4 separate regions of the Homo sapiens genome follow, and regions 2, 3 and 4 are each linked to region 1. Evidence: promoter capture Hi-C in 16 types of primary human blood cells and fetal thymus (Javierre and others, 2016). All regions are on one chromosome and are shown on one strand. Each heading gives the region's core, a stretch centred on a gene start or on the middle of the fragment in contact. The rest is flanking DNA. Distances are from core to core; before and after follow the strand shown. Region 1 holds the start of PEX19 (peroxisomal biogenesis factor 19). Region 2 holds the start of KCNJ10 (potassium inwardly rectifying channel subfamily J member 10). Region 3 overlaps KCNJ9 (potassium inwardly rectifying channel subfamily J member 9). Region 4 holds the start of ATP1A4 (ATPase Na+/K+ transporting subunit alpha 4).

Region 1 (6,675 bases), core at 3,637-6,136:
CTCTTCTATGGAAAATCCGAAGGTCTAAACTTGACTTTTTTGAGGTCTTCTCAACTTGACTACAGTTGTGCTCATAATTGTCCTTGCCTTTCCAGCTTAATTATTTTAAGGAACAAATGAAAACTCTGGGCTGGGTGGAGTGGCTCATACCTGTAATCCCAGCACTTTGGGAGGCTACGGTGGGCAGATCATCTGAGGCCAGGAGTTCGAGACCTGCCTGGCCAACATGGCAACACCCCGTCTCTAATAAAAATATAAAAATTAGCCTGGCATGGTAGCATGCGCCTATAGTCCCAGCTGCTCAGGAGGCTGAGGCATGAGAATCGCTTGAACCTAGGAGGTGGAGGTTGCATTCAACTGAGATCATACCACTTCATTCCAGCCTGGGTGACAGAGCAAGACTCTGTCTCAAAAAAAAAAAAAAGGAAAACTCTGTGATGGACATTTGTTTAGTAAATCCCTTCAGTATTTATCCCTCCTTTCCCCACAGCAGCTTTCTTTCCTGTCAACTAGAAAGGAGCAGGATGTAATAAATACATTTTGGTGTGACTAGGCCACACCAACTCTTAATCATCTCCCATTTTCCTTAGACATTTAAATTTCAAGGCAGGTACCCTCTGTGTACTCAGAAATTTGAAGAAGTTATTTGGTTTTCCAAAATGCACACTGCGGGTTATTGATTTGTTCTTTACAACTATTGTTCTCATATTTCTCACACTAAATAAATCTCTATGAGAGCTTCTTGACTTGGCCATTTATTTCTTGGACACTCTCATGTTCTTGTTCACCCATGCAGGCACCCCACCAAAGTACATATCTTCCTTCCAGTAATAATTTTTAATTACAAAATAAACATCCACTATTGGAAAAAAAAAAAAAAAGCTAGCCGGGCATGGTGGTGGGTGCCTGTAATCCCAGCTACTCTGGAGGCTGAGGCAGAGGATTGCTTGAACCCGGGAGGCGGAGGTTGCAGTAAGCTGAGATCGCGCCACCGCACTCCAGCCTGGGCGACAGAGTGAGACTCCATCTCAAAAAAAAAGAAAGAAAAAAAGAAGCACATGTTTTTCATAGGGTATATATGAGGACCTAAACTGCTGTGAAAATGATAGAAAGCAAGTAGCTCCCTTATTCTGTTTTTGATTGCAGCCTTTTATCTTTTGCTAATTATAGCAATATTTATTGAGCACCTGCCATGTGACTGTCACTGTTCTAGATATTTTACATGTAATATACAGATAAAAGAATAGTACTTTATATATATTACAATGATACAATGATTACATTAACAATACAATATTTTGCTTGTCATATGCTAAGAATAATTGGGTAGAGTGACATTACTGTGCCTTCGATTAAAATAAGTACTTTTTTGCGTGTTAAATTCATGTTTTCAATAAATAATAAATGCATATAGTTGAAAAATCAGTAAATATAAAAAGCTATTCTGTGACAAATCTTTCCACCCTTTCATCAGCCACCCAGTTCCTATCACCTTCCCCTAAACAGGTAACCACTGTTACCAGCTTTCTTACATCCTTCCAGAAATTTTATATATATATATATATACACACACACACATATACATGCACATGCTGATATCACTATGCCATTCTCTATCTCCTTTTATACACAAATGAAACCACACTATTTAACAATTTTGTACCTTTGTTTTTTCATTTAACATTTTTGGTATTTTCTCGTATCAATATATTAGGGAGCTTCACTTTGTTTTTTACTTCTCTTCATACTATACGTTGTATTTTTTAGCTTTATCTTAAGAGTTGCTTTTTTAAACAGCATCCCTAAACTAAGGCTGCCTTCTCAACAGAGTACATACTACTAATGAGATTGTGCCATTGCACTCCACCCTGGGGTACAAGAGCGAGACTTCGTCTCAAAAAAAAAAAAAATGTACATATTAGCCGGGAGTGGTGGCTCACGCCTGTAATCCCACCACTTTGGGAGGCCAAGGCAGGCAGATCACCTGAGGTCAGGAGTTCGAGAACAGCCTGGCCAACACGGTGAAACCCTGTTTCTACGAAAAATACAAAAATTAGCTGGGTAGGGTGGCAGGCACCTGTAATCCCAGCTACTCAGGAGGCTGAGGCAGGAGAATTGCTTGAACCCGGGAGGCGGAGGTTGCAGTGAACTGAGATCACACCATTGCACTCCAGCCTAGGGGACAAGAGCAAGACTTTGTCTTAAAAAAAAAAAAAGGCCGGGCGTGGTGGCTCACGCCTGTAATCCCAGCACTTTGGGAGGCCAAGGCAGGCGGAACACGAGGTCAGGAGATCGAGACCATCCTGGCTAACATGGTGAAACCCTGTCTCTACTAAAAATACAAGATGTGAAATAATTGTGACTCCCAGGCAAGAATTAGAATTTGTTCGATAAACTGTGGAGAACCATTAAATCCTTAAGGAACAGAGTGATATGAAAGCGTTATAAAATACTGTTATTCAACAGTATTCGCTATACATTAGAAGGGCAGAAGGAGCAGTCAGTAGGTCAGTAAATACTGAGATGAGATGTTAGGAATATTAGGAGTAAAAATAGAAAAGCAGAAAGAAGTTTAAGAAATAATGCAAAGAAAGAATCATGCTTGTTTTTGACTCCATTTTAATTATCATCTATTATCTTTTAATTAACATGCTTATATTACATTAGTTTAAAGCCAATTGACCAAGTGTAGTGGCTCACATCTATAATCCCAGTACTTTGGGAGGCCAAGGTGGGCATATCACTTGAGGTCAGGAGTTAAAGACCAGCCTGGCCAATATGGTGAAACACTGTCTCTACTAAAAATACAAAAATTAGTTGGGCATGGTGGCGCGAGCCTGCAGACCCAGCTACTCAGGTGGCTGAGACAGGAGAATCACTTGAACCCGGGAGGTGGAGGCTGCAGTGAGCCAAAATTGCACCACTGCACTCCAGCCTGGGCAACAGTGAAACTCTGTCTCAAAAAATAAAACCAATAGAGATGCCTGTTGATAGACAAGTTTTCTTTTTTTGACGTGCTTGTTACAACTATAGCCATATTGGAGATACACGTGTAAGCAGTTTGAATGAGAAAGTCTGGAATAAATTATGTTGCAGGTGTTGGAAAACAGGTTTATCAGGAAAGGATTTGATTACAGAAGTTTAGAATTGTAAAGGACTTCAAAAGTGATTAGTGGCAGAATTGGGGCTGGAATTTAGGCTTTCTAACTCACAGTTCATAATATTTTGATCCCAAAACACACTACTTGTGGTTGGAAGAAAACAGGTTTTGCAGATATGATTTTACAAGTCTGTGCCCTATCTGTGAAGGACATAGTAAGTGCTTGATCTGGTGCTTGATGCAGTACTCAAATGTGTGTTTAGGAAGCTAAGAATGAAAGTGATGAGGTGACTTAACACAGGATTTTTTTTCATTTAAAATTCTTACCTTGTATCATACTGTGTGTATATCTCATCATACCTCCGGCTCACCCCCACTTAGCTACCTTACAGCAGGGGGTGGTCCTGATTTATCTCTCTGTCCTCACTGTGCCCAGAACAAGACCTTAATAATAGGTGCTCTCTAAGTGCGAAAACAGATTTGTATGTGAAACAGTTGCTACATTCTGACATCTGAATAGAACAATTCCAAAGGAGGAAAGGGACGTCTAGAGTTACCTCTATCTGAGCATTCCCCGTGTTCACTCAGTTGGAGGTTGGGTTCTGTGTGGAGAAAAGGAGATTGTTCAGGGAAAGTAAGTCTATTACTACTGCATTCGAATTGCCCTGCTCAGTCCAAGGTACCAGAGGCTCTCTTAATAACATGGAGTTCTAAGTTCCTGGCCGGCCCTGTGTCCTTTAATCAAACAGTTCTAATAGATAATAGGAAATGAGAGATGCCACTAGATTGGGCAGACAGATGTGCCTGATTAGGGACTGCGAGAGCAAAGAGTGGCCAATGAATGCCTACTAAGTTTTAAACCCTAGCCTGGGAGTTGGGCTTTACAGCAGTGAAGACAACAGACGAAAATCTTTGCGTTCATGGTGTTTAAATTCTGCAGGGTGGGGAGCGGAGAATAAAAAAGTACGGTAGATAGTATGTCAGATACTGTTCAGTGTTAGGAAGAAAAGGAACGGGAATGGCCAAGGAAAGCGTTTCAGAAAAGATAATATTTGAGGGAAACAATGAAGTGAAGCCGGGCGCAGTGGCTCACGCCTGTAATCCCAGCACTTCGGGAGGCCGAGGTGGGCGGATCAGCTGAGGTCCGGAGTTCGAGACCAGCCTGGCCAACCAGCCTGGCCAACATGTTAAAACCCCGTCTCTACAAAAATTAGTCGGACGTGGTGTCGCGCGCCTGTCATCCCAGCTACACGGGAGGCTGAGGCAGGAAGAATCGCTTGAACCCGGGAGGCCAAGGCTGCAGTGAGCCGAGATGGCGCCACTGCATTCCAGCGTAGGCGACAGAGCAAGATTCCTTCTCAAAAAAAAATAAAAAAAAAAAAATGAAGTGAGAGAAAGTAGTATGTTATGTGCCATAATTGTCATATCAATTATATATGTTTAGATTCTGGTTATTTGTAGGCAGTTTGTCTCAATCTGGCCTACTCACAGCTCAGGAAAAAATAATGAAAGAGCTTCGCCAGGTAATTTGGGAAGTTGAAAGAAAGGAGTCCGGGCCTCTAAAACCAGACAGAAAATAACCCTATCTTATCCCTAATTCTGTTTCACAGGAGAAAAGGGAAAAATACCCAAAACACAAACACTCAAAGCTTCCTGGCCCTTTAAAAATGGCGGTTCCGCACTGGTCAACAATACCATTGGTTACCCGAGGCAGAAGAGGGCGGGAGCGAAGGGGTGGAGGGCGTGTCGGCACCGAGGAGGTCCCGCCTCCTACGGCAAGTCGGAGGTAGCAAGATGGCCGCCGCTGAGGAAGGCTGTAGTGTCGGGGCCGAAGCGGACAGGGAATTGGAGGAGCTTCTGGAAAGTAAGAGCCCATAGTGGGAAAGGCCCGAAGAGGGCACGTGTGAGGACCCATTCTGGGGGTTAAGTGAACCTGAGATATTAGGGACGGGCAGGAGAGGCTCTCCAAAGGTTAAATGGGGGCGGAGAGTCTGACCCCCGAGCCCCCCAAAAATCTCTGGGTCATCCTGCCCCACCCCGGCGACTGGAGCTGGGGAGCTCACCTGGGGTCCCTCAGTGGTCCGGATGGTGGATGTTTCCGCAGGACGGCGTTTCATGATACCTCTTCAAACTCCTCTTTAGGTTACTGAGTTCTTAAAGTTCGACTTCAGCAGCAGTAGCAGCAGCAGCAGCATTTGGTTCTTGCTGGGTAGCGAACTACGCACTCACTGATTGCTTACATTAACTCCTAGCAAGCTCGTGGCCGGTCCTTGTGTGCCTCGTCCTGTCTTCCTTAACACGAAAGACACTTTTCTCCTCCTAGTCCTTTTCTCTTTCTCTCGTTAGGCCCCTTAACAGTTCTTTCATCTTGTCAGTAGCTCAAGCGGACTCCTTTCCCTTATTTTGAGAAACTGAGGATGTGGCGATTTCAGGGGAAAGCAGTTCACCCTCCTGAAAGACGGGGGATGTTTTCTTAGCATTACTCTCCACTCCCCTGTTGACTTCCTGCCCAGAGTAGGGCCAGTGCTCTCTCCCTAGGCCTGGCGAACAGAATGGTGGTGAGGACACAGGCTTTTCAGGGCAGAGGTGAATTTGTAATCGCTTGCTCAATCACGGAGATGTGGGCAGGCAGAAAAATGAACAGAAACCCTGAGGAGTGCCAAGTGACTGTGTAAATTAGTGTACGGTTATCTGCAGAGATCAGGCCAAAGGGAGCTCTAGAAGGTTGTTGGGGAGCACTAAACTGGAGAATAAGAGAAGATAGTTTAATGCCGTACCATGGAGTCTGGTATGTAGTCCCTCAGTCTGTGCTGGTACCAGTACCAACAGGAAGCTGGGTGGGATGTCCTGTGCTTTCTCACCAAGTTATTCCTTTTAGAGCTCCAGAGTGAGTTCAGAGGGATGAGGACATCTGTGTTCTCTACTACTGTTGGGTATTTGTATGGGATTTCTAGGGAATCGTTAGGGTGTGGCAAGGGAGACACTATAGATGGAGATGTCTCTGCAGAACTTTTTAATCCTCTCCTCCCAGCTCTGAGATGGACATTTGTTCCACCTTAAGGGATTTCTTTGCCTTTGCTCACAATAAATTAGGTAATCCAGAAGGAAGTAGGAGGCTCATTGAGGGTGGTCTGGGGAGGTGGGGGACTCAAGGAGGAAAATTGAGGAAAGTTGGCAATTTGAAAAATCATATTCCTAATGCTTTGCCCAGAAACCACCCAGCCTTGCTTGCATTCTCATCTGTCGCCAACACACACACCATGTCTCTTGTCTCTGAAGGTGCTCTTGATGATTTCGATAAAGCCAAACCCTCCCCAGCACCCCCTTCTACCACCACGGCCCCTGATGCTTCGGGGCCCCAGAAGAGATCGCCAGGAGACACTGCCAAAGTATAAATTCCACCCCCTTAAGGGATGGGGAGGGGATGGGCATGCAGCCCTGAGCAGAGGTTGGGCAGGCCCCTATGGGCCAGAGGGGAATGTGGGAGGGTACCTTGGCCTCACATTGGTGAGTGCTCTTGCCAGCCTCAGTCCTTGTGAAATAAGGACTTGAGGTTGAGTGGGGGAATCTCAGAG
Region 2 (6,675 bases), core at 1,967-4,466, 210 kb after region 1:
ACATATTGACACATGGGTGGTAGTTGAAGCTAAATGGATGGATAACATTTTTGGAAAAATAATAAGTGCACAATAAATGTCTGTTAATGATCCATAAATCATTACAGTCCCTTTGCTTTCTCTTCTGTGGTGTTCTTCATGTTTATTTTGGAGTTCCACCAGAGCCTCCAAGCTAAGCTTGTCCAACCCACCGCCTGTGGGCTGCATGCAGCCCAGGACAGCTTTGAATGAGGCCCAACACAAATTTGTAAACTTTCTTAAAACATCATGAGGGTTTTTTTTGTGATTTTTTTTTTTTAAAGCTCATCAGCTACTGTTAGTGTTAGTGTATTTTATGTGTGGCCCAAGACAATTCTTCTTCTTCCAATGTGGCCCAGGGAAACCAAAAAATTGGACACCCCTGCCTAAGTCCTCTCTGTCTGTGAATGTCAAGACTGTGGCCCCCTTAAGGATCTTTTGGATGTCCTATTTTTTGAAACTTAAAGGTCTTATACCAGTCTTGCAGGCTGGCCCTCAGACCACCTCACCACAGCCCCTCATCCATATTGACTTAGGAAGAGAGGGCATTCGGAGTGTGAAGAAGAAAAACTGGAAGACTGTTTCTTTTTCTTTTTATTTTGTGTTTTGTTTTGTTTTGTTTTTGGAGACAGAGTCTAGCTCTGTCCCCCAGGCTGGAGTGCAGTGGCGTGATCTCGGCTCACTGCAACCTCTGCCTCCCAGGTTCAAGCGATTCACATGCCTCAGTCTCCCAAGTAGCTGGGATTACAGGCGCGTGCCACCAGGCCCGGCTAATTTTTGTATTTTTAGTAGAGATGGGTTTTTGCCATGTTGGCCAGGCTGGTCTCAAACTCCTGACCTCAGGTGATCCACCCACCTTGGCCTCCCAAAGTGCTGGGATTACAGGCATGAGCCACCTGGCCTGGCCTGTTTCTAGTACATTGTCTGGTTTCTATTTCTCTCCTCTCTATGAGTAGAGTTCTCAAAAGTGTAACCTATACTTGCTGACAGTTTCTCACTTTCTAGTGGTAACTTGTAATCTGGTTCCCACCTTGCTCACTCTTCTGAAATTGCTCTCAAATGTCACTAGAGACTTTGTCACTGCCAAACCCAATGCCTCTTCTCTCTGTACTTGTTGGCACTGTTAGAACCTCCTCCTTAACAGTCTCTCCTTCCTTAGCTCCATGACATCTCACTTTCTTTGTCTCCTTCCTGCCTGTCTGGTGGATTCTCTTTCACTCTTTGGGGGTCCTTCTTCTTCCCATCCCCTAAACATAGGTGTTCCTCACTCTCTGTGCCAGGCTCTCATTTCTCTGTGCAGTCTTTGTTGGGATCTACCCTGTTCTCATAGCTTCAACTCACACTGCCCTGGCAGCAATGACCTCCTTTCTCTCTCTGGTTCTGACCCCTCTCCACAGCTTCCAGCTCTGAACTCATCACTTCCTCTTCCCCCACCTCAGTCTCCTCACCAGGTGTGATCCCCCCCAGGCTCCCCTATGCCCGTGAATGACCTCGCAGTTCTGATCACCTGACTTGAGACTCTAGTATGATCTCTGAAGCTTCCCTCTTTTGCTCAACATGTCAAGTTGGCTTCAAACTTTTTTCATTTTCTTTTGATTTTTCTGTACTCCAATTCATTTTCTGTGTTCCACTTTTCACCATTGCCACGCTGATTTGGGCTGTCATCTCTTCATGCTTATATTATTGCAATTATTTTCTATCGTCTACTTGCCTACTATATCCACTTGGTTCAAACTATTTTGTCACCTCCCGATTAATTTTCCTAAAATGCCATAGCTTTCTCCTACTCCATCCTTCCCAAGAACCTTCAATTGCTCTCCGTAGCCTACAGAAACTCTGGCCTGACCACAAATCAGCACAACTCTGTGTTTCTTCCGGATGTTCCCCTTAACACAAACACTGCCTATGGTGCCTAACCTTTAGTCCCGTCCTTCCAGCTTCTCCAATGAGGCTATTTGAATGGACATTTACTTATCTTATGGCTTTTAGTGGTTAAACTAAGCTACATTCCTAGTTTCTTTCCTTTTTTTACCTGAATTTATAGCAATTCAATATGGTAACACTGGTTATTGATTAGCAGTTAAATGTTTATGATGATCAGAAATGAGGAAATAATTATATTCTTTTTAAATAAATGCTGGGGGTGGGGGTGAATTAAAACCTCTCAACACATAGATTCAGAAAATTAAAGAAATCTTTGGTGATGAAAGGGTTGAGAACCATCACCCTGCACTCTAATCTAGTAAATGGGACAGTTTGATGCTGTTTCCCAAGTGAACTTGTATTTTCACGTCTCCCCAGGACTCTGCTACGTTGTTCCCTCTGCCTTAAATGCAACAGAGTCCTGGGGACCATCTCTCAGCACCTGAATCTTCTGCTTCCTTTGGGACCCTAATCAGATGTTACCTCTTTCCTCCCACATCTGCTAGGAGCCCTCTGAGTAGAATGACCTCTCCCTTTTACAGCCTTCAGTACCTCCCGCACTTCGCTGAGGGTTCCGGCCTTATCTTTCCTTACAGAGAAAGCCGCTGCAGGTGGGCACCGTGTGCTGCGCGTCTCTCACCCAGCACCGCACCGGGGACTTAGGAGACGGTGAACAACACGGGAATTGTGCCCAAAGATACAGTCCTGTGGCTCAGGGAGCCCAGGCCTACTCCGCCCCAATCTCACTTCCAGGCGCCGCCTTCGGCGCTGCCTGCAGGGCCACTGGGCCGGTCCTGAATTCATTTCCACTTCGTTAACTCGGTCCCAGTCCCGCCCCCCGGCTCCAGCTCTCGTAACCCATCGCTGACAGGACCGCCTCCCTTTTCTTCCTTCTCCCTTCCCCTGTCACCCTGCCAGCTCAGCTCCTATCGTTTCGCATATCGTCTCTTCATCTCTCTTTCTCCCCGGGTCTGTCTGGGTCTCTGTCTTTGGATATTTCTCTCTGCGCCTGCAGCTGTCTGGGTCTCCGCTTCCTTGCCCCGCACGCCCCGCCCCCTGCCCAAGACCCTCCAATCTCGGCGGCTCGAGCCTGGCGCTCCACTCTCCCATTGGTCTGTTCGGAGCCCCCCGCCCCCGCCTGCCCGGCCCCCCTCCGGGCCCCTCCATTCACACAAAGTTTGGCTCCGGCGCTGCGGAGGGAGGGGGCGGCCCGGCCCGGCCCAGCTCTGCCCCCGGCCGGCCCGACCCCGGCCCCGGCCCCCGGACAAGCCCTTATCTGATCCCAGCTCCGGGTTTAAGAGTCCTGGCCCGGCCCGTCGCACAGCTCTGCTCCTAACTCCTGCCCGCCCCGTCCGTCCATCTGTCCCGCTGCCCCGCGGCCCATCCAAGGGGCCACTCCACCTCGGACCCAAGGTAAGACCCTGGCCCTGATGAAGGAGTTCTGCCGCCCCGGCCGGGTCCTGTCCCCCTAACTCTCCAGAGACATCGGGGTCCCAGATCCTCAGTCCCTACCCTGCCTGGCCTCAGCGGTACCACCGTCTTGTTCCCCTGCCTCCCGCCTTGGGCAGTCCCAAATGGAGCCTCCTGGGAAGGGCTCCCCACGAGGAAACTAGCCAGGCTGGTCACCTCAGCCCTTTCATCTAAGGAAGGGGCTTTCCCGATGCCCCCTCCCACTGGGCAGACCAGCAGTTGCATCCCTGCTCCTCTAGTTAATACAGTGACAACCACACATAACCAGGCACCCCATACACAGGCACAACAGACAGTGCGCCCTCCTCCCCATATGGACAGGTTACTCCCATCCCCAGCCCCTCCCCCACTCCCCATACAGTGACAATCACATAGTGACACCCATGATCGCTAGTTCCCACATGGGGAGAAAAACAGATACTGGCAGCTTAAACCGGGGAGCCACCAAAGCCTGGTGTGCTCCAGACCCCTGCCCACCCAATCTCTTCCTTCTATTCTGAGTGGCTCCCATTTTAAGACATCCCTCCTCATGGCCCCTCACCCTCACCCCAGCTGTTTCGCACTGGGATTTCCAGAAGGAAAGGAGCAGGGCCACTTCTGCTAGAGTGAGAAGGGCAGATTGGGTTCTATAAACTCACCCTCCAGATGGAGACGCCCCTTCCCATTCCATTCCTCCTCTCATCAGAACTAACCCAGGGCACCTGTGTTAGGGAACAGATGAAGGATGGAACTTCCTGATTTGGGGGAGGAGAGCTGAACCCAGGAATGGGTAGAAGGACAACACTGGGAAAAAGTGAGGGTGGGTTCTGGTGTCTTGAAGTTTAATTCCAGTGAGTGCCCCAGGCAGGGTGAGGCAGATGGGGAAGAAGCTGGTGCAGATTTGGACCCCAAAGAGGCCAGTGCTTAAAGCCTGCTTCTGTTGCTTACCAATACAAATTCTGACTAAAGATGTCTGGCCAGTCTGCTCTTGCTGTGGTGTTTGAATTTTTTTTCTCCCCACTGGGACTGCTTTAGGCTGCCTGGGTGGGAGGGAGATAATGACAGGAGATTTAGGGCCCCCATGTGAGAGATGGCCTTGTTTAAGGGTGCTGAGGAGGGCCTGGAGTGGTTGTCATGAAATTAGCCCCAGGAGGGGTGGGCAGCCACCAGTGAGTTCAATTTAGTTTCATCCTGAAACTCTCTCCCTAATCTCCAAGGATTTTTGAACATATTCCTGGCATGATGGTGGGTACCATCCTGTGCCAAGTGGTAGGGCTTGTAAATTTCTCTGGGGGTAGACTGGGTATAGGGGACCAAGTTTGGAAGGAACCAGGCATCCTGACTCATAGCTGGTTCTTCAGGGAGGAAGAAACGAGGGAGGAGGGGGATGGAAGGCATCATGCCAGGGAGAGGGTCCAGGGCTGGATTGTGGAGGCAATAGGCACGGCCCAGGCAGTGCCAACTCCTTTCCCCGCTGCCTTCCCCCAGTCCTTTGGTGGTGGTGGCAAGGGAGGAAGGGAGGGAGAGGGTGTTGGGGGGTGATCTGGGCTGGTCCAGCCTCCCAAAGCCCTTGCCAACCTGGGTCCTGAAAGGAGCTGCTGTTTTCTGAGCCATCCCCCCACCCCCCACTCAGAGCCTGAGCAGCCAAGTTGTCTCAGCGGATATCAAATGGCAATGACTCCACCGATGGAGGGTGGGTGGGGAGTGGGAGTGGCAGGGGTAGCAGGGTTATGGTTCCAGCCCCTCTGTGGCTCTAATGCAGAACCCCTCTGCTATCCCTTACCCTGAGGAAAAAATAAATCCATCTTCCCCAACATCTGACCCACATCCAGTCTATGGGTGCATATGTTTGTGTGAGGGGATTAATGATCTGCCCGCTGGTATCCCCTACCTCCTCCGTGTGCCCCATTGAACCACATTCTAGCTCCCTCCCACCTGCATCACTGTGCATAAGCTCATTTACAGCTCCAGCTTGGTTGGCTTGAGCTACAAGGAAGTGACTGGCAGAGGACCCGGGGACCTTCCTTCCCTTGACCTTCCTTGGGACCAGAGAGGCTGGGACACTTGGATCACGGTGGGCTCAGATGAAGTCCTCTGGAGTCATTCTGTGATTGGCAGGATAGGGGGTTTAAAGCTCTAGGGGGTGGGTCATGCAGAAAGATCTGTTTCCTCAAAGGATACTCCTGAGCCTCCTGGTAAAACTCTTGGTTTCTGCACACAAGATGGAAAGATAGGCCGAGCCTCCTGGCATTGGTGGGGAGGAAAAGAGACATTGGGCAATGGAGTCCCTAAGCTTTCCAGCCACAGGTTATTTAGGACGGAAGAAAAAAACCTCCACTCTCCCTCCCCTCCTCGGCCTAGATTCTTCTCTTGCCTGACTGGTCAGTGCTACTGTCCAGGCTGAGGCCAAGCTGTCCAGGATAGCAGTGGGGCCCTGGAAGGGGGCAGAGAAGGAATCAGCCAAGGCACATCGTTGAGATGAAACTACAGAAAGATTGGAGAGGAAAGGGAGATTTAAAATCTAAGTGTTTTAGCACCCAATGGTGGGTGGTTGGCTGGGCAGCTCCTGGGAATGGGAGTTTGCCATGTCACTTCGGTCTCTCCAGCAGGCTGAGTTCAATGCTTTTCTTCCCTCATTTGAGTTTAGCCTACATGTTTGCCACCATTCTTTAGGGAGAGAGTGCATCTGGTGGCCCCTCTTCCTCCCCTCCCCCATCAGAACCTTGAAAGGGCAAAGAGAAAGGGATTGTGGGAAATGCCCTCCCGTGGGTGTTTGCCAGCTTGGAGCCTGGATTTGAGGTGGTGGGGGAAGGGAGGGGCTGGCTCTGGAATGTGAGAGAGAAGTAAGAACAGAACTTTGTGGCATGGAGAAGGAGGTTGGAGAAGCAGGAGCTAGAAGAGGACTGAATCAGACCTCAAGCCTCCAACAAGGTGCAGCACAGAAAGGGTATACATGGCCATTGTGCAACTTTTCCGATGGCACAACACCTGGGGAAAGGATTGTGGCTGCAGCTAGAAGGACTTAGGTTAGATCTCAGGAAGCACATCCTAGAAAAGGAAAGACATTTGAAATGGAGACTGGGAAGGAAAGAGAGACCACTTTCTGGACCAAAAAAACCAACCAAAACAAAACAAAAACCACCAACAAAATCCCCAAACACAGAAGCCCATCCTTAAAGCTTCCGAGAGGAGTGATGGAGCTCAGAGTGCAGGGATTATTGTGACAACTGTCAGGGGCCTCCCCTGGGTGGCTGCTGCACCTCTCTCTTGCTGTTCCAGGGCTAC
Region 3 (6,675 bases), core at 2,492-4,991, 190 kb after region 1:
CGAGTGGTGGCGGGTGAGGTGCAGGTGCAGCGCCTACAAGGTGATGCCGTGGTGCTCAAGATTGCCCGCCTGCAGGCCCAGGATGCCGGCATTTATGAGTGCCACACCCCCTCCACTGATACCCGCTACCTGGGCAGCTACAGCGGCAAGGTGGAGCTGAGAGGTACTGGGCCCTGGGACGGGGTGGAGCCACACACCCTCTCAAGGCAGAAAGTCAAGGCCACAAGTGACCTATCTAGTTGCCCCTTAGGTTTTGTAGCCAAGGAACTTGAGGCCCAAAGAGGTTAAGTGATTTGCACAAAGTCACCCAATAACTCAGTGGCTGATGTGGGACTCAAACCCAGAGTTCCTCACCCAGGCCAGTGCTCATCTTATCATATTAAGACCCCTCCTGGGAGAAGAAATGTCCTTAAGTTGTCCAGTCCACTTTCCATTCCCAAGAACGAAGAAGACTGTTGGGTTGAATAGCCTCTACTCCTGGACAGTACAGGACCCAGATCTGGGAAAGAGAGTAGAGTTAGGGAAGGAGTTAGACCATGTGACATTCTCACTCTCTTAAGTTTCTTTGTCTTCTGAGAAGAAAGAGCCGCTTTTCTCAGTATTTCAAACAGAGGTCAGTCTCAAACATAAGGGTGAGTAGGCGATGGGCTGGTTCTATGAAATTCTACAAGTATTTATTGAGCGCCTGTGCTGTGCCCAGTACTGCCCTTGGCACCACTGAGTTACAGAAGAAATAATACAACATGCGATCTTTGCCCTCTGGGAGCTCACAGTTTATTTAGGGAGATAGGCTATACACAGGAAACAGTAACAAGGGCTGCCAGCTCCCAGCCCTCCCTCACTCCAGCTGTTCTCTCCAGTTCTTCCAGATGTCCTCCAGGTGTCTGCTGCCCCCCCAGGGCCCCGAGGCCGCCAGGCCCCAACCTCACCCCCACGCATGACGGTGCATGAGGGGCAGGAGCTGGCACTGGGCTGCCTGGCGAGGACAAGCACACAGAAGCACACACACCTGGCAGTGTCCTTTGGGCGATCTGTGCCCGAGGCACCAGTTGGGCGGTCAACTCTGCAGGAAGTGGTGGGAATCCGGTCAGACTTGGCCGTGGAGGCTGGAGCTCCCTATGCTGAGCGATTGGCTGCAGGGGAGCTTCGTCTGGGCAAGGAAGGGACCGATCGGTACCGCATGGTAGTAGGGGGTGCCCAGGCAGGGGACGCAGGCACCTACCACTGCACTGCCGCTGAGTGGATTCAGGATCCTGATGGCAGCTGGGCCCAGATTGCAGAGAAAAGGGCCGTCCTGGCCCACGTGGATGTGCAGACGCTGTGTAAGTGCCACTTATACATCCCACTGTGGGAGCTGGGAGGGACAGTATCCTGGTGGGCACTGTGGCCACAGGGGGTACCAGATAGCCATCATCTGACTCCAAGGAACTCATCTTCCACAGAGTGAGCAGCCTTGCTAGCATTTCTCTCCCCCGGCCCTTGATGGGTTTTCTCTGCTCAGAAATTGGGTATAGAGATAGGAGGCCCATGCTGAGGGGTGAGATTCAAGCCCCTAAATAGAAAGATGGTCATACCTAGTGAGGGGGAGACAGGAGGTTTTGAAGTTGCTGCTGTCAAGTAGGAAACAGGAAGTTGGGGAATCGGGTGCCTCTGTGTCCCCTCCTGCCTCCATGACACCTCTTCCCCTACCTGTGTTTCAGCCAGCCAGCTGGCAGTGACAGTGGGGCCTGGTGAACGTCGGATCGGCCCAGGGGAGCCCTTGGAACTGCTGTGCAATGTGTCAGGGGCACTTCCCCCAGCAGGCCGTCATGCTGCATACTCTGTAGGTTGGGAGATGGCACCTGCGGGGGCACCTGGGCCCGGCCGCCTGGTAGCCCAGCTGGACACAGAGGGTGTGGGCAGCCTGGGCCCTGGCTATGAGGGCCGACACATTGCCATGGAGAAGGTGGCATCCAGAACATACCGGCTACGGCTAGAGGCTGCCAGGCCTGGTGATGCGGGCACCTACCGCTGCCTCGCCAAAGCCTATGTTCGAGGGTCTGGGACCCGGCTTCGTGAAGCAGCCAGTGCCCGTTCCCGGCCTCTCCCTGTACATGTGCGGGAGGAAGGTGAGAGGGGGCTGGGCCCTGGACGGGGTTCGAGGATTGTCAACCCCTTTTCCTTCTGTTTCCATGACCCCTCCCTCTCCGTCAGCTGTTTGCAGGCCACAGCCTCACGCTCCTCTTCTACCAAGATTGTGGGAATACCCTGAGTTTCCTGGGGCGGTGCTTGGCGGCAGCCCTAACCCCATGCTCCCTGGCCCTGCACCCTCTGACCCCATGTCCTTTGTTCTGCAGGTGTGGTGCTGGAGGCTGTGGCATGGCTAGCAGGAGGCACAGTGTACCGCGGGGAGACTGCCTCCCTGCTGTGCAACATCTCTGTGCGGGGTGGCCCCCCAGGACTGCGGCTGGCCGCCAGCTGGTGGGTGGAGCGACCAGAGGACGGAGAGCTCAGCTCTGTCCCTGCCCAGCTGGTGGGTGGCGTAGGCCAGGATGGTGTGGCAGAGCTGGGAGTCCGGCCTGGAGGAGGCCCTGTCAGCGTAGAGCTGGTGGGGCCCCGAAGCCATCGGCTGAGACTACACAGCTTGGGGCCCGAGGATGAAGGCGTGTACCACTGTGCCCCCAGCGCCTGGGTGCAGCATGCCGACTACAGCTGGTACCAGGCGGGCAGTGCCCGCTCAGGGCCTGTTACAGTCTACCCCTACATGCATGGTGAGTGACACCCCCTCCACCCTCCTCACTCTGCCTTCCTCCTGGCCTCTGCCACTGGCCTTCCCTTCCCATCTTCTGACCCTCCTGCTACTATCTCTCTCCTCCACATTATGTCACATGAAGTCTCAAAAAATCCAACTTCCAGCCCTGCAGTGCCCACCTGCACGGGGTCCTCTGTGGTTGATGCTGACTTGCATGCTGAGGGGGCAGGCTGTGGGCAGGGATGGGGGTGTCTGTGAATGGAGAAGGTGGGTTCAGAGAACTTGATGGGGAAAGCGCAGAGGCAAGTGTATGGGTGGAGGATGATGGCATCCTCTCTGAACAGTCATCCTCTCTCCCCCAGCCCTGGACACCCTATTTGTGCCTCTGCTGGTGGGTACAGGGGTGGCCCTAGTCACTGGTGCCACTGTCCTTGGTACCATCACTTGCTGCTTCATGAAGAGGCTTCGAAAACGGTGATCCCTTACTCCCCAGGTGAGGGAAAAGAACCCCCCAACCTTGTTTTCATTGGGCTTCCCACCCCCAAGTCCTGAACCAAGCTGCTCCCTCCCAGGCCCCACCTGGAGGAGGAGTAGGCAGCTCAGATCCACAGGGCCCTGTTAAGGGGTGGAGGCCGCGAGGGAGCCCCACTCAGGGCTCTCTGTCCTTAGCCCACACCGGGCACCCTTTTCAGGTCTTGCAGGTGTCGACTGTCTTCCGGCCCAGCTCCAAGCCCTCCTCTGGTTGCCTGGACACCCTCTCCCTCTGTCCACTCTTCCTTTAATTTATTTGACCTCCCACTACCCAGAATGGGAGACGTGCCTCCCCTTCCCCACTCCTTCCCTCCCAAGCCCCTCCCTCTGGCCTTCTGTTCTTGATCTCTTAGGGATCCTATAGGGAGGCCATTTCCTGTCCTGGAATTAGTTTTTCTAAAATGTGAATAAACTTGTTTTATAAAAAGCAGGCTTGGCTGTGTCTTCCCTACCATGAGACTGTAAAACGCTCAGGGTGCATAGTAGGGAGGTGGTTGGGGATTGACAACCTATTCTGGATGACCCAGGCCTCTCTTCCCACCACAAACACCATCTGGCCTCCATGGGCCATGCCACCCACCCCAGGAGGGGACACCTGGGTTCCATCTGCAGCCTGAACTGTCGGGGCTGAGACAACTCCTGATTGGACTCCTACTTGGGGAGGGAAGCATAGAAAAGGAGGGTAGGTTCCAGCTGCCTGTGGTCACCCCCGCACCAGCTTCTCCCATGTTAAAGGGCATGGGCCTCCAGGGGCAGTGCCTTTTCTGAGCTTCCCAGACTTTCCCCAACTCTTCCCACGTCTCATTCTCCTGGTCAGGCTAGTCTTGGACCTGACTCCTCCCACTAGGCCCTGGGGCTGAAATTGTTGTTCCTTCTGACCCATAGCAGCAGAATAGAAGCCTCAGAACACAACTGATACTCAGGCTGGGACAACAGGCAGTCAGGGGAGGGCCTGTGTGTCCACAGAGCCATTGCACCCACATGTACTCGCTGTACCTGCATATACCCTCTACCCGCATATACCCACTACACCTGCATATACCCGCTTCACCTGCCTGTACCTACCCTGGGGTCTCCTCCCTCCCACCCTTCAGCTTCACCCCTCCTCCAGTGCCCCAGGAGTTTCATGAATTTTCTTGCCTAAGGATTCTCTGATCCTAAAATTCTTACCTGCACGGCACCTTAAGAGGCATCTGGCAGGCCTCCTTCAGTTGTTATTTAAACATTTATTGAGCATTACGAGTTTGCTGTCATTTTTACAGATGAGGAAACTGAGGCCCAGATATGCGATTTGCCCAGAGTCATAGAGCTAATTAGCAAGTGTCAGGAGTAGGACCTAGGTCTCCTGACTTGTTGCACTGTACAGTGGTGCCCTGAGTGGTGACAGTGGCGAGGAGAGGTGTGGCAGGGTCTCAGTGACTTCAGCAGGCAGGAGGGGCCTTTCCAGACTGAGTTTCTCTGCTTGTTCAGCTGCAATGGGTTGGCTCCTGTGTGAGTGCGTGTGTGTGGATACCAAGTAGCCCACCCGCTCTTGTCCAGACCCCCCTGTTTTACTGAAACCCAAATGAATCCCCATTCTCCATCCCAACATCTGTTCTTAGGGGACCAGTCAATGCCAGGCTTCAGGAATCTCATCTTTGATGACAGGGCCCCAGTGGCCCTGTGACCTGAGGCAAAGATATCCGTGTTTTGACTGAAAGGAAGGGACTGGGACTTGGGTCCTCTCTGAGTGAACCCCAGCTGTCTGGGCTGCTTCCATGGCCCCCTTTCTTGCTTCCAGAGGACCCATAGGGCCCTGGCTATGCCCATAGGACCCTGGCTGTGCCCCATAGGACCCTATCTGCCCAGCCTGGAACAGAGAAGACTGGAGTGCTTTCCCCAGGGGGCTTATGAAAGGGCAGGAGTGGGATGTGGCCAGGGCCAAGGGAGGAGGTCCTTGCTGGGCCAGTGCTGCTGTGTGGGAGACAGGCGCTGTCCCAGGGCAGGCTCTCCTGGGCCTATGCTTTTCTCCAGGCCAGCTTCAGGTCCCTTCCACCCCTCTGCCTCTCTCAACTTGCAGTTGTTCTCCCTCACTATCCAGGAAGCTGCCGCTGGTGACTGGGATGTGATCAGGAAGCAGGTGGAGGTGGGGTGAGAATATGCGTCTTTGGGACCCCCTGGCCCAATTGGGCTGACAGCAGGCTGCAGACACATCCAGATGTTCTAACTCCTATCGCTTCTCTCCGATTTTCTCCCACATTCAATCTTGCCTCCAGTCCTACAAGGGGTTCTGTCCTTTGCCCCTAAAACTCTTCCTGCTCCACCTCCCCCCGACCTCCCCAGGAGCCCCCTCAAGTCCTTCTGATGGCTTCATCTCTCTGTCGGGCCTGCTCAGCTTCCAGACACCCCCTCCACTTGTCACTGCCCTGTTTCCATTGATGGTTGAGTTTCTGGGCCCAAAGTTAAACTCTTCAGCCTGGGCTTCGGGTCCCTTTCCCACACATAAAACCCCACCCTTCACATTTCTCTGTCTGCTCCTGTGAGGATCCTCAGCTTCTTCTCAGCTTCTCTTCATCTTCCTCTCAGCTACTCCTCAGTTTCTATGCCCCATGTCCTGAAACGACTTCCAAGTATTCACTTAGAGCACAGGTTCTCAAAGTGTGGTCCTCAGTCCAGCAACAGCAGCATGACCTGGGGACTTCTTAGGAATGCATGGTTTTGGTCCCCACCTCTTGGGTCAGAAACCCTTGGAGTGGAGCCCAAAAATCTGTGTTTTACCAAGCCCTCCAGGTGATTCCAACGCACACTGGAGATTTCTAACTCCTGACTTACATATTCCCTATGCCTTACACTGGCCCCAGCCTTCTGATCACCCACACTCCCCTACCCTCCACGGGACTGCACAGGTTGTCAGTTTGAATTATCCCTCGTTCAGTCACCACAGGTAGATTCCTCTGTTTTCCCAGGTGCCCCTTATTTTGAGGACAGGAACCAGGTTTTTGAATGTCCACTCCACATGGCACCCAATCAGTGATGTGAATGACTGTGCCCCAAGGACACACTGCTTTCCTAGGGGCTCCCTGTTTCCCAGCTCTAGTGAACCCACTTTCTAGATCTCTCTCCTGGCCCTTCCTCCCCAGAACCTCTCTCTCTCTCTTCCTGCCTGTGCCTGATACCTGTAAGATCTCACTCCACTGTAAGAAAATAGCTATCCCTGGTTTTCCTTTCCCAGGCCCCTCTCCAGGCCCCAGCTCAGGCACCTCCCCGCTCTGCCTGCTTCCCTGAACTTGCGGACTAAGGTCATTCACACCTTGCTGAGCCCCTTGCACGCCTTCATCCTGGTGAGGGTGGAGCTAGGAGGGCACCCTCCTCATGTGCCCATCTTGGTCCGGCTCCTTTCTCCTTCACTTCAGCTTGGCCTACCGTGTCATTAG
Region 4 (6,675 bases), core at 2,218-4,717, 130 kb after region 1:
CCTTTGCCCTTTGGTGGCTATGGCCCTGTGCAGAGAAGAAATAGGGTTGGATAGAGAGCTGTGAAAAGAGGAACAGCCATAGCAAAAGGGAACCTGACATTTGGAGCCCCAGAATGGGTCTAGAGACTAAAGACGCTTTCAGAAGGTCAGTCTGGAAGTTCTTCCTGGATAAGGTGAGGTTTCAAAATTTGCATTAGAGGAGGGATGTCATTTAGCATGCTTACATAGGAAGGTTTTTGTTTATGGATTGATTCACAAACCTTTTTGAACTTGAGAACCTATCTCGGGTCCTAGGTGCTGAGGATACCAACATGAATAAGAATGGTCCCTACCCTTAAGGTGCTCCAGTGGGGAGATAAATACATACAGATAATTATAATGTGCAGGGCCAATGTCATGATGAAATATAATACTTAATGTTGATAACATATTAACACCACGCTTTGACTCTCCAACTTAGAGGGAATAAGATCTAGTGTTTGGTAGCACAATAGGGCAACTATAGTTAATAATTTATTATGGATATCAAAATAATTAGAGGAGTGGATTTGGAATGTTCCCATGCAAAGAAATGATAAATGTTTGAGGTTATGGGTATCCTAAATACCCTGATTTGATCATTACACATTGTATGCTTATATCAGAATAATACATGTATACCATAAATATGTACATCTACATATCCATTTTTTTTTTTGAGACAGAGTCTTGCTCTGTCACCTAGGCTGGAGTGCAGTGGCATGATCTCGGCTTACTGCAACCTCCATCTCCCAGGTTCAAGTGATTCTCCTGCATTCAAGTGATTCTCCTGCCTCAGCCTCCCAAGTAGCTGAGATTGCAGATGTGTGCCACTATGCCAGGATAATTTTTGTATTTTTAATACAGATGGGGTTTCACCATGTTGGCCAGGCTGGTCTCCAACTACTGACCTCAAGTGATCTGCCTGCCTTGGATTACAGGTGTGAGCCACGGCACCTGGCCCATAAATTTTTAAAAAACATAAATAGAAAAGAATACTAACAAAAAACATGAATGCATAGATTCTCATTCCACTCTTGTGCACAAGCTTATGTGCTTTTTCCTGTTAATGAAAATGATAGTAGAACCTGCCAATCACCACCAGCCACTCCCCAACCTCTGCCTGAAACACCCGAGGGGCCCCAAAACCCTTTCAGGGGGTCCACAAGGTCAATTTTCATAGTAATACTAAATCATTGTTTGCCTTTTTTTACTCTCATTTTCTTAAGAGTATATAGTGGAATTTTCTGAAGGCCAACTGGCATAACATCACAACAGATTTTATCCAGAAAATATTTGAGAATCCAGCTATCTTCTATTAAAAAGCAAGACATTGAAGAGGTTTGCAAAAATGTAAGATGCTGCTAATTTTTTTGTTTTGAAAAATACAGTTATTTGTCAAAACATATATGAATATATGATAACTTTATTTTTGTTATTTTTAAATGAATTGAGAAATACATTTTAAAACTCTCAATTTTAATTTCTAATATGGTAAATATAGACAGACTTAAGCCACATAAGCACAAGTTCTTTGCGGTCCTAGATAAATTCTAAGAGTGTAAAGGAGACCTAAGGACAAGACGTTTGACCAGCACTGCCCTAAAGCATTCTTATTCTCTTATCTAGTCCCACACTCTCTTTGAGGGTAGTTACCATTTGCAGCTTTTTCCAGGTAGTGTCCATGGAACGTGGCCAGGCAGAGGGTGAGGGGTGGGAACGTTGGACTTGAAGTTAGGGGGCTGGATTCCTAGTTCAGCTTTTGTCCTGGCAGCCTCACAGTCAGAGTTGGAGACTCTCTGCCTCCTCAGGGAGCTTCTTACTCACCTTTGTCAGGTCCACGGAGTACTTGGTGCTCAGCTCTTCCAAGGTTAATTTGTGATCATCCTGAGGGGACAGTAGAGGCATTGAGGGACAGGGGGTGGCCCAGGTCATTTCCAGGGAGAGGGGGAGAAACAGACTGGAGAATGTTAGTCCAAACTGAGACTGCTCCATTTTGTAAGCTCCCTGCAATTCTTTTTTTGAGATGGAGTCACTCTGTTGCCCAGGCTGGTGTACAGTGGTGCGATTTCGACTCACTGCAACCTCTGCCTCCCAACAGGTGTTTCTCCTGCCTCAGCCTCCCAAGCAGCTGGGATTACAGGGGCCCATCACCAGGACCAGCTAATTTTTGTATTTTTAGAGGCGGGGTTTCACCATGTTGGCCAGGCTTGTCTCAAACTCCTGACCTCAGGTGATCTGCCTGCCTCAGCCTCCCAAAGTGCTGGGATTACAGGTGTGAGCCACCACGCCCGGCCTAGCTCCCCACTATTTTACAGGCCTTGGTCAAAGTGAAACATTTCACGGGGGTTCGGGCCAGAGAAACAGCCTGCCTAACCACCTGACCACAGGGCAGACGAAGGCCCAATTAAAGACAAAGACCCCACTAAAGAAACATCCCTATCACATCCTGCTGGGCAAAGGTCCAGGGAATACCATGATTATATTCTGTGGAAACAAGGGCCAAAAATCACCTCATCATGAGAACATCTTATCGATATCCTGCCAGGCAGCAGGCCATACAGCCCAGACTCCTCCCATCCATCCCTATAAGTACCCAGCCTGTAAGTGGCAGTGGACTGTGGAATTAAGCTGATCCCCCACTTCCACAGGTGTCTGCAATATACCTGTGCTTGCTGTTGAGCTGCCCTGTCTCTCTGTGTGTATCTTTTTTTTTTTTTTTAACCCTCTCCTTCCCTCCAAAGCCTAACAGAGAAGAGATGTGGCTCTGGCCTGTGTGTTTCATTCTCAAGGTAAGATGTTAAAGATAGGTGGAGGAGTGTTTTCAGAGGGCAGCTGTCAGCGCCCACTTTGGGTGGCCTCACCATGACCACTTCCTTCTTCAGTTCCTCCATATTGCGCTTCTGTTTTTCCCTCTTCACCATTTTTTTCTTGATAAGCCCTTTTTTAGGTCTTCGTCTTGGACTCTGGTCATGGGGAGCCACTGTCCCTTTCTTCCCCCAAAGCCCCATAGCTATCCCCAGAAAGAGCTGCCCGAGCTCAACTGTGGGAAGAAAGCTGAGAGAGTGAGGCAAGGGGAAGGGAAGAGGGCGCGCGGGCAAGGGGGCCACGAGAAGAGAGTGGTGGGGAGAGAATGAGGGAGCAGAAAGAAAGAGGCAGGGAGGGAGGTGTTGGGTGGTGAAGGTGAGAGAGAGGAAGGGAAGTGAGAGAGGAGAGACTGAGCGGTCCTCCAGCCGTCCGCTGGGAAGAGGAAGAGTCAGGAGTGAGGGAAGAGGGAGGAGAGAAGCCTAGGGTGGAAGGATAAAAAGGTAGAGGTGAGGGAATGCAGTGAGGGCAGGAAACAAGAGGTGAAGCGTAACCAGGTGCCTCAGTGATGAAGATGCCGCAAGGCCCACAGGAAGGTGGGAAATGCAGTGAGAGTGAGGAGGCGGAGTGAGCTTCAAGGATCTGGGAACCCCCCAGTCCCAGGCCCTGTGGTTGCTGGGGCAATGACCCAGGTCTGGCATCACAAAGGCCTCCTGAAAGTTCTAACCAAGAATCCAGAAGTCTTGCCTTGGCGATGGTCCAGGTCTGCTGTCGCAAAGGCCTCATGAAGGTTTTAACCAAGAACCTAGAAGTCTCAGTCTTTGGGTTTGAGGACGATTGGAGCAGGCCCTGCTACAGAAAGAGTTTCAGTCTGAGGGCAGAACTAGAACAAAGTTCTTGTGTGGTCCTGCAGACTTTGGAGGCTTAGAGGTATGCCAAATAGATGACTCAAAAATAAAGCGGGTATTCGGCCGGGCGCGGTGGCTCATGCCTGTAATCCCAGCACTTTGGGAGGCTGAGATCGAGACCTTCGTGGCCAGTATGGTGAAACCCCATCTCTACTAAAAATACAAAATTTAGCCAGGTGTGGTGGTGGGCACCTGTAATCCCAGCTGCTCGGGAGGCTGAGGCAGGAGAAACATCTGAATCCAGAAGGCAGAGGTTGCAGTGAATTGAGATTGCATCACTGCACTCCAGCCTCGGTGACAGAGTGACTCCATCTCAGACAAACAAACAAACAAACAAACAAACAAACAAACAAACAAAAAACCATAGCAGGGAGCTTACAAAATGGTGCAGTTGCAGTTTGGACTAATATTCTCCCGTCTGTTTTTGAGACTCCATCTCAAAAAAAAAAAAAAAGCAGGTACTCTGTGTGTGTTTTTTAGCAAGGCACACTTTTCCACTAACATTGGGTTTGATCTTTTAATTTTAGGAGATCAGCTAGCAGAATAGATCAGATCTTGGGCTCTGGAACCAGTCCTGGATTTCAATCCCAACTCCTCCACTTGTCAGCTGTGTGGCTTTGAGCAAGTTACCTAACCTCTGTACCTCTCTTTTCTTATTTTTAAAAGAGGATACCTTCTACCTTAAGTGAGGTGCTCTACAAAAAGCACTATGTGACATATATAGTATGTGCTCAATAGGTAGCTTGAATTCAGTAGTAGTTTTATTTGTGGATTAATATGCAGCTCTTCTCAGTGAGGGTAAAAATATGCTTTTCCATGTGATAGCGTTGCATTTTCTCATTTTAAAATGATGTACTTACCTCTTCCATTGACCTTCTCTGGTGTCTCAGTAAGTGCTTTGACTATATTAACTGTATATATGTTTTGCATGTCCATAGGATTCTACCTCCTTCCAAGAATAATCTGAAGCATCTATACTTTTCTGTCAACCATTATATATATTTTTCAATTATGCACGTCACATAGATTTTCCCATTCTGTTGTTTGATATTTGTTTATTTACTTTTTGAGACAGGATCTCACTTTGTTGCCCAGGCTGGAGTGTAATGGTGCGATTATGGCTTACTCCAGCCTCAACCTCCCAGGTCCAAGTGATCCTCCCACCTCAGCCTCCCAAGTAGCTGGGACCACAGGCATGTGCCACCATGCCCGGCTAATTTTTTTTATTTTATTTTAGTAAAGACGGGGTGCCCCTGTGTTGCCCAGGCTGGTCTCAAACTCCTGGGCTCAAGCAATCCTTGGCCTTGGCCTCCTAAAATGTTGGGATTACATAAGTGAGACACCAAGCCTGGCCTGATATTTATTTAATTGCATTTTGGTTGGGCATGCTTTTTAAAAATATGACTGTATCTGGAAACATTCATCTTGGTGCTGATGCAATCCTCCTTGAATATTCAGAAATAGAAATGCTCCCTTCCCAGCTGGGATAAATGATCGTCTATTTCTTTAACAGATTGGATTTTTCTTCTCTATTAAAAATGTTTAAGATAAAAATTGAAAGCCCCACCTTCCCTCCCTCCAAACTCAGATTCTCCCCACTGCTGAAGTTACTGCTGGTAACAATGTGCTGCATGTCCTTCCAGTCTTTTTTCTATGTTTATACAAATAGATATCTAAAAGGAGGTATTTTTCAACTTTTAAACAATCATTCAACTCTCTACCAACCTGTCATGTACATAAAGCTTCTTTTTTTCAGTGCTGTGAGGCTTCCATATTCTGTATTGACCATGCTCTATTCAATCATTCCCATTACTGATGGATTTATGAGATATTTTCCATTTTTTTAACCATTAATAAAATTGCTAGAGTGTCATTCTTGCACATAGATATCATCAGGCCCTTGAGCTTCTATTTCTGTAGAATCAGTTCCTGTTGCTGAATCATAGAGTACACTCATTAACAATCTTAAAAGATTCTGCCAATTGGTCTTTAAAAGTGTTTATCTATCTGCATCCCAACAACAGGATGCAAGAATGTCTGCCTTCCACACCTTTGATTATGCTAGATGACCTTGATTTTTACTATTATAATCAGTGAACTTTGATATCTTGTAGTTTTAATTTGCATTTTTAAATTGTCAATGTGAGCATTTTCTCTTATGTTTACTGGCTTTCTGGTTTTCTTTCTTTCTTTCATTTCTTCTTTTCTTTCTTTCTCTCTTTCCTTTCTTCCTTCCTTTCTTTCTCTCTTTCTTTCTTTTGACAGGCTGGAGTGCAGCGGTGCAATCTCAGCTCACTGCAACCTCCACCACCTGTGTTCAAGCGATTCTCGTGCCTCAGCCTTCTAAGTAGCTGAGACTACAGGCACACGCCACCATACCCAGCTGATTTTTTTGTATTTTTTAGTAGAGATGGGGTTTTGCCATGTTGGCCAGGCTGATCTTGAACTCCTGACCTTGGGTGATCCGCCTGCCTGGGCATCCCAAAGTGCTGGGATTACAGGCATGAGCCACCATGCCTGGTCTTGGACTTTATTTATTTATTTTGTAAATTGTCATTCTTACAATTTGCCCAATTTTCCATTGTTTTCTTTTTTATATTGATTTGTAGGAAACCCTTGTCATATATAACACAAATGTTTTCTCCCAGTCTTTGTGTTTAATGTAGATGAACATAAAATTCTTAAGAAGAAGGTTAGAATTAAAGTTAAAATTCATATGTTTTTCTATGCATCATCTATGTGACAATAACACTTAGCTCAGTCTTGCAGATGGGCATTGCCCAAAAGCAACTTTATGGAGATACAATCAATTGAAATTATTTTTAGAAACCTCATTTTGTTCTAGAGATCTTAGCTCAAAAGTCCACCTCTTCGGAGAGGCCTTCTCTCATAGTTAAATCCAAAACAGCCCCTCCGGCGCCAGCCCTCTCTCTATCACTTTTGA

What was found. Contacts are between HindIII fragments. The CHiCAGO score rates a contact against its expected background, and 5 or more counts as called.
Region 2: a contact is called between the fragment with the promoter of KCNJ10 here and the fragment with the promoter of PEX19 in region 1, in 2 of 17 cell types (fetal thymus and erythroblasts). The highest score is 5.2, in fetal thymus.
Region 3: a contact is called between a fragment that was not itself captured here and the fragment with the promoter of PEX19 in region 1, in 12 of 17 cell types (naive CD4 T cells, naive CD8 T cells, endothelial precursors and 9 more). The highest score is 9.1, in naive CD4 T cells.
Region 4: the fragment with the promoter of ATP1A4 here is called in contact with the fragment with the promoter of PEX19 in region 1 in 1 of 17 cell types (megakaryocytes); the score reaches 5.0 in megakaryocytes.

The regions. Positions count from the first base shown.
Region 1 is chr1:160,283,344-160,290,018 of GRCh38, reverse strand. It overlaps PEX19 (peroxisomal biogenesis factor 19), which reads left to right and starts at 4,886. Exons shown (of 8, transcript NM_002857.4): 1 at 4,886-4,964; 2 at 6,380-6,489. The coding sequence starts at 4,895. LOC107985219 (a long non-coding RNA gene) reads right to left here and starts at 5,654. Exons shown (of 3, transcript XR_001738265.2): 1 at 5,164-5,654; 2 at 3,658-3,702. It overlaps COPA (coat protein complex I subunit alpha), which reads left to right. Exons shown (of 33, transcript NM_004371.4): 33 at 1-1,425. The HindIII fragment of the contact is 4,290 bases long and covers 4,752-6,675 here.
Region 2 is chr1:160,066,701-160,073,375 of GRCh38, reverse strand. KCNJ10 (potassium inwardly rectifying channel subfamily J member 10) reads left to right here and starts at 3,216. Exons shown (of 2, transcript NM_002241.5): 1 at 3,216-3,354. RefSeq lists enhancers at 1,128-1,487, 3,665-3,834, a silencer at 3,025-3,254 and a cis regulatory region at 3,749. The HindIII fragment of the contact is 4,127 bases long and covers 1,559-5,685 here.
Region 3 is chr1:160,088,357-160,095,031 of GRCh38, reverse strand. KCNJ9 (potassium inwardly rectifying channel subfamily J member 9) reads right to left here. Exons shown (of 3, transcript NM_004983.3): 3 at 4,469-6,675. It overlaps IGSF8 (immunoglobulin superfamily member 8), which reads left to right. Exons shown (of 7, transcript NM_052868.6): 2 at 1-163; 3 at 861-1,322; 4 at 1,701-2,108; 5 at 2,337-2,750; 6 at 3,094-3,224; 7 at 3,424-3,689. The coding sequence ends at 3,209. Among named protein-coding and RNA genes, the nearest start is that of IGSF8, 6.9 kb to the left of the region's middle. The HindIII fragment of the contact is 8,135 bases long and covers 1-6,675 here.
Region 4 is chr1:160,148,395-160,155,069 of GRCh38, reverse strand. It overlaps ATP1A4 (ATPase Na+/K+ transporting subunit alpha 4), which reads right to left and starts at 3,467. Exons shown (of 22, transcript NM_144699.4): 1 at 2,883-3,467; 2 at 1,846-1,905; 3 at 1-25. The coding sequence starts at 3,029. The HindIII fragment of the contact is 4,407 bases long and covers 1,069-5,475 here.